2 separate regions of the Homo sapiens genome follow, and region 1 is linked to region 2. Evidence: promoter capture Hi-C in human tissues and cell types (Jung and others, 2019). All regions are on one chromosome and are shown on one strand. The core of a region is centred on a gene start or on the middle of the fragment in contact, and the rest is flanking DNA. Distances in the headings are between cores, read along the strand shown. Region 1 overlaps ZNF516 (zinc finger protein 516). Region 2 holds the start of CNDP2 (carnosine dipeptidase 2).

Region 1 (2,879 bases), core at 141-2,640, 1.9 Mb after region 2:
ATATAACATGGAAGAGGCTTAAACAGTGCGTGTGCTGAAAAAGACTGCCACTAGTGTCACCACGAAAGGAAACTACTTTATTTCTCTTCAAGCTTCAGGTGTGTGCTGATCAATTAAACTGACTTTAATTATTTATTCCTGATTCTAACCTATGGTGAATTTAATCAATTTCAGCAGATTTACCTGGCCCTCGTGCCTGTTGAATTGTTTTGCTGAGATAGACGGTATATCACAATTTCTCAGAATTTTCCAGTATAGAATATTCAAATATTAATATGACAAAGTAAGGGCAGTTGTTCTACAAAAACCAACCATGTCTGTCTACCAACCGGAGGGCTTTTGAACAGAATGCAGCAAATGAGGTAACTATGCCTATCTTGACAACACTTTTCTCAAACTCACGGTTTTCCTGCATCCTCTCTTTAATGAATAATTAACGACAAGTCTCTTAAACCAAACAAAACAAAGAGAAGCACGCTGGCAGGTTCCGACAAAGCCACAAGACACCAAGTAAAGAAAACATGCCATCAAACTGAGTTCATAAGCAACATCTACCAACTGGCTTATCAATGACAGCCATCTGTCTACACGGGCGTAAGTATGTGTGTAGATGTGTTCACGTGTGTGCTCACCACAGAAAGGCTCTCCAAGTATGTGAGTTTCCTCCAGTTATTAAGGAAAATTGCTTATTTTTAGACTAAATGACAAGAGGTCACACTGAATGTGTGCTCTGTGGTGTATGTCCTAACTTGATTTCCACAGCAAGTATACAAAATAAGCACCATTATCATTATTTTACAGATAAGGGAACTTAGGTTACATTATATGTCTATGGTAGAGGATCAAAGTTAAAGCCTCTACTCAATAACCCAATAGATTATATTATCTGGGTCTCTCAGAGTAGAACTGGCTGACCTTCAATGAATTTAAATGTTGACAGCTATTAGATACAGTCTCTGCCAGGATCTCTCCTCTCCACTATAAACCCGTATCTTCGCCTGCCTATTAGACATTCCTACCTGGGTTTCCACAAAGCTCTCAAACTTACCTTGAATTCTATCTGGAAATGTTTTATCCTGCTCCTCCTTCCAGCCTCAGGGGAATGGGTCATCCCTGGGGCCAGCTGCCTGAAGCCAGACCTGGGGTCAACACCATTCCCTCCTGTCCCTCACTTTCCAAGCCCAATCCCTCTGTTCTAGTCCCTCAAATCTACCCGCTCTCTCCGGCCCCATGCCAGCTCAGGCCACCTTATCTCTCGCTGGGATCAAGCTAAGCGCCTCCAAAGACCTGCTTCTGCTGCCGGGAACCACTAAGCCCATTCTCAGTAGCGTGTGACCTGCTCATTCTTCTCAAGCTACAACTCTGACGGTGTCAGCCCTGCCTAGGGCTCTCTATCCCCTGTGGGAAGAAATTCAGAGTCTCAACAAGGAGACCTGGTGCTCTCTAGACCCCAGGCCCGAGCCTCTGCCCACCCACTCTGGCTCTCCCTCCGTGAGCTGACCCCCACCCAGTTCCTCCAGTGGAATGTGTTCCTCCACTCCGGGCCTTCCACGTGCTGAGCTCTTTAGGGACGCCCATCCCTCCGCCCCTCCATAGTCTTCCAAGCGCCTCCAGCCTCAATGACAGGGCCCTTCCCATGTCACAGCGCTGCCTTGCTCTGCCCTACTTCCTGTCTAAGCCACCCATGGACCTTTTGAACCAGAGAAGCAGGAAAAATGGTTATCTTGTCGCCCCAGTATCCTGCACAGGCCTGGCACGCAGTGGGTGGTCAATAAATATTGTTAGTAAGTGAATAAATTATTATAAAATGGAATTTCCAAATACTGTTTCAATTACATAATGTAGCATCTATTATGTATATCTATAAAAGTCCATTGACTTTAAGTGTCACATCAAATAATTTCTGCATGAATACACGGTGTTGCATGATCAAAAAAAACCACAGCCATGATCCCTAGCATCTAAAGCCCACAGGAAAAGAATCCGATTTAAATATTAATGAATGTTAGCAAAGCACGCTAAACATGAAAAAGAACATGGCTGGTAAGTATGAATCACATTCTAGACATACATAACTACAGAATGTTTTCTATAATCTATAAGGTATCTTAAATTTAACACAGCTATTGTGGTTTCTGTAAACAATGAGAATTATAGGATAAGAACAAGGAACCCTAGGATTTAAACCTCTACCTATTACTGATGTGTTTTGCAATTATCCTACCCAACAAATCTCTATAGGAATGCTTATAGTTCCAAAGTACGTTAAGGAAAATGGAATTTCCTTAGAGAACTCTGCAGAGCATTCAGTGATAAATCACCAAAAGCTACTTTAAATGTAATGAAAGACAAAAAGTACCATCAGAGGCCATGAGCTCAGATATGGAATTTAACAAACCAACTGCCACAGCAGGAGACGCATACAAATCTAGCTCAGTTTTAATGCCAGGCCTGAACTGCCACTGTCCTATGAATGAAAGGAAAGCTCACCCACCGAGATCTTCACACCAACAGTTAATACACAGGCTAAGTCTGAAAGCCACATTCACTCAGACCACAATATTGAGTTACTGTAAACTTGAAACTAAGAGGATAGTTGGTATGAAGTATAAAATAACAATATTTTAGTCTAGAGAGACAAAGAGAACAATATAAGTACATCTTTTCTATATCAGAATCAAGAATGAGTAACAATTATTATATTGTTACTCATATAATAAAATTATTATAAACAACTGGTTATGCTGGGGCATAACCAATAAGTAACACAGACATTATTTAAAATAGTCTAAATGATTTGCTTTTTGATCTCCTATTTCTCCCTGGGACAAGAGTTTTTCAAAGAGGCTTAGGTAGAATTAATAGGCAGCAAATAAACT
Region 2 (3,237 bases), core at 89-2,588:
CAGGGATGGGGGGGACGGGGTGGCTCACGCCTGTAATCCCAGCACTTTAGGAGGCTGAGGCGGGTGGATCAGTAGGTCAAGAAATCGAGACCATCTTGACCAATATGGTGAAACCCTGTCTCTACTAAAAATACAAAAATTAGCTGGGTGCGGTGGTGCGCACCTGCAGTCCCAGCTACTCGGGAGGCTGAGGCAGAATGGCTTGAACCTGGGAGGCGGAGCTTGCAGTGAGCTGAGACTGGGCTACTGCATTCCAGCATGGCAACAGAGCAAGACTCTGTCTCTAAATAAATAAATAAATAAATAAATAAATAAATATAAAAAGAGGAAACAAACCATGTAAATTTTAAGGGAGGAGACAATTTTAACATTTTACTTTATGTGGGAACGTATACATCTCTTACAACTATTAAATTCATTTTTAAAAAATAATAACTCCCGAGCCATCACTCCTTAAAGAATGTGGTAGTGGTACAAGTTTAAAGAAAGTCTTTTGAGAACACTCTATTGGAAAAGTGAGCAGACTAGGGAATAACAATTTTACCCCCAAGAATTGTTGTTAAGATTAAAAAGGAAAGCGCTGTCGCAGACGCTCAAACACGGTGCTGGCTCTGCTTCCTTCATCAGTTCCTAGGGTCATGGGACACAAATACTAAAATATTTCCACTACTGGTAACGATGCTGGCGAACGCTTTCCTAATCCAGTTCAGACCGACCTCTCATTGGAGCTTGTGTGACCCGCAGGAGTCCGTGCCCCGACTCCGCCGGGACTGAAACGCAACGGAAAGTGCAGTGCTGGATGCGCAAGGGAATGGGAGCGTCGTGGGACCTCCGGAGCCTGGGAGATCAGAGGGTGGAGTCAGGGCCCCCTAGTTTTGGACTCCATTGCCGCACTGCAGGCGACTTCTCGGACCCCACCGTTGAAGCACCAGGCCCCCCGCCCACCCAAGAGCAACCGGGAAGCACAGCACAAGCCCACAGCTCCGGACACGCGCTCCCGTGTGCCCTGCCTCCCCTGAATCCCAACCCACGAAATCTCCGCCCCCTCGCCACGCCCACATCCCCGTCTACCGTCGGGGAGGGGCGACGAGGCGAAAGCCTTGTGGACCAGGCCGGGATTGGTGGGCGGGACGGAAATGGAGCTGGGAGAGGTGACGTCACCTTCCGCACCTGGCTCAGGGCGGAAATGGGGCGGGGAGAGAGTGACACCACCCCTCTGCCTGTGGCTGGATTGGTGGGCGTGGCGGGGGCGTGGCGATGCCTGCCCTCCGGACAAGGCGGGGTTGGTGGCCAGGGCGACCGCGGGGCGGGCCAGCGCCGGGGGTCGTGGCCGGGACACGTGGTACGGAACCGGCGCCGCGCTTGCTGCTGGTAACAGGGCCTTGCCTAGTGGGCCTTCCTTCCCAGGTGGGTCTTCCTGATGGACCTTCCTTCCCGGGTGGGCGCCCTGAGCTGGGAACGGGCTGGGCGGGGAGGACCCGGGTCAGCGGCGAGAGTCACGCCTCATTCGTGGGGGAGCGTGGGGCGCCCGGCCGCAGCCAGGCGGGAACAATGGTGTCCGGGCTGTTCCCGAGCGCGCGGTCGGGGGCGGAGGCCCGTGACGGCCATGGCCCCGGGGCCTCTCGCACCTCCGGGCCACTCGTGTCCCAGCAGCGCCGAGCGCGTCCCCGGTACGCAGGGACAAGCTGGGCGGCGCACTTGGCCTGAGCCTGCGTGGCCCTCCCTGGTGGAGTCGAGTGGAACGACCCGGGTTGGAGATGGGGTTGCGGGGAGCCGAGCGCTGGTCAGGCCACACCCCTCCCCAGGGGCCTGCTGAGAACTCCAGCCTTTCTCCAACGGATCCCTTTCCCGGAGACCTGGGGTGGGGAGTGTGGCGGGACAGAAGCCTCCCAGGTTCAAAGGGCCCTGGACAGCGTCCCTAGCTCCCGCCAGCATTTGAGGCAGCGTTTAAGGCTATAGGAGGAAGCGTCTGAGGGGAGACAAAATTCCCATGCCAGCTTGATGGTCTGGGGCAGGTGTCTTATTCAATTGGCTTCAGTTTCCTCATCTGTGAAATAGAGACAATATTTGGTCCTCACAGACAGGGCCACCAAACCAAACTCCCCACCGCCTGCCAAGGTCAGATTCCGTAGATCATCCAAGCATAGACTGCAGGAAGAGGCGGAGAACCCGGGGCCTGCTACCAATACCTTCCTTGTCCCTAATGTTTGCAGGCAGGAGTGGAGGAAGAGAAGTCCACATTATGCTTAGGGATCAAGTTCTAGCTTGGGCAGATTGGAGATTCTTTTATTGGTTCTTAATCAGACATGAAGGTGTGATTCAGTTATTTGTGTTATATATGCCTTCAATTATCAAGGGACAGGGACTGAGATTCTCAGAACTAGAAGACTCATTTGTGTGTACTACTGACGGTTCCAGGTGCCACAGCAATTTCTCCTGCCCTCCACTAGTCTCAACATTTAAATCATGTTACTCCCTTGCCAGGCATGGTGGCTCATGTGTGTAACCTCGGCACTTTGGGAGACCAAGGCGGACAGATCGCTTGAGTCCAGGAGTTCGAGACCAGCCTGAGTAACACGAGCAAACCCCGTCTCTACAAAAAATACAAAAATTAGCTGGGTGTGGTGGTGCGCACCTGCAGTCCCAGCTACTTGGGAAGCTGAGGCAGGAGGATCATTTGAGCCTGGGAGACAGAGGTTGCAGTGAGCCAAAATCACAGCAATGCACTCCTGCCTGGGTGACAGAATGACAACCTGTCTCTAAATAAATAAATAAAGTTACTCCGTATGAACTTTAGATTTTTAGAGGGGAGTGAGGTGTCATTTAAAAGGATAATGCTTTTGCTTAAATCAGCATACTGCTTTTACCTTAATTAGTGGTGTTCTCCAGAGCATATAAAAATGGTTCCATTTAATGGCTTTGTAACGGGGGAGGTGGGGGGAAGTGAAACAGGAGTAACCCAGAAGTGTGAATGGGAGGAGAAACTGGAACCTGGCCTAGCCTGGTTTGACTGGATGAGTGATTAACAGGAGTTGCTTTTTAGCCCATCTCTGATGGTGGAACAATCTGATCCCTGTTTCCTCTCTTTTAGTGAAAGTCGTAACTTAGATAATTACAGTCATATGTTGCTTAAGGATGGGGATACATTCCAAGAAAATGCATTGTTAGGCGATTCGTTGTTGTGTGCACATCCTGAGCTGCGCTCACACAAACCTGGATGGTACAGCCTCCTACATA

What was found. The method cuts DNA at HindIII sites, captures the fragments that hold promoters and counts their contacts. A contact is called where the count stands out against the background at its distance.
Region 1: a fragment that was not itself captured here is called in contact with the fragment with the promoter of CNDP2 in region 2 in 1 of the 25 tissues and cell types used here (dorsolateral prefrontal cortex).

The regions. Positions count from the first base shown.
Region 1 is chr18:76,366,038-76,368,916 of GRCh38, forward strand. All of the region lies in intron 6 of ZNF516 (zinc finger protein 516), which reads right to left. Among named protein-coding and RNA genes, the nearest start is that of ZNF516-AS1, 120 kb to the right of the region's middle. The HindIII fragment of the contact is 5,402 bases long and covers 1-2,879 here.
Region 2 is chr18:74,495,025-74,498,261 of GRCh38, forward strand. It overlaps CNDP2 (carnosine dipeptidase 2), which reads left to right and starts at 1,339. Exons shown (of 12, transcript NM_018235.3): 1 at 1,339-1,407. RefSeq lists enhancers at 625-894, 1,452-1,964, 2,348-2,447 and silencers at 1,165-1,674, 1,805-1,854. The HindIII fragment of the contact is 9,626 bases long and covers 1-3,237 here.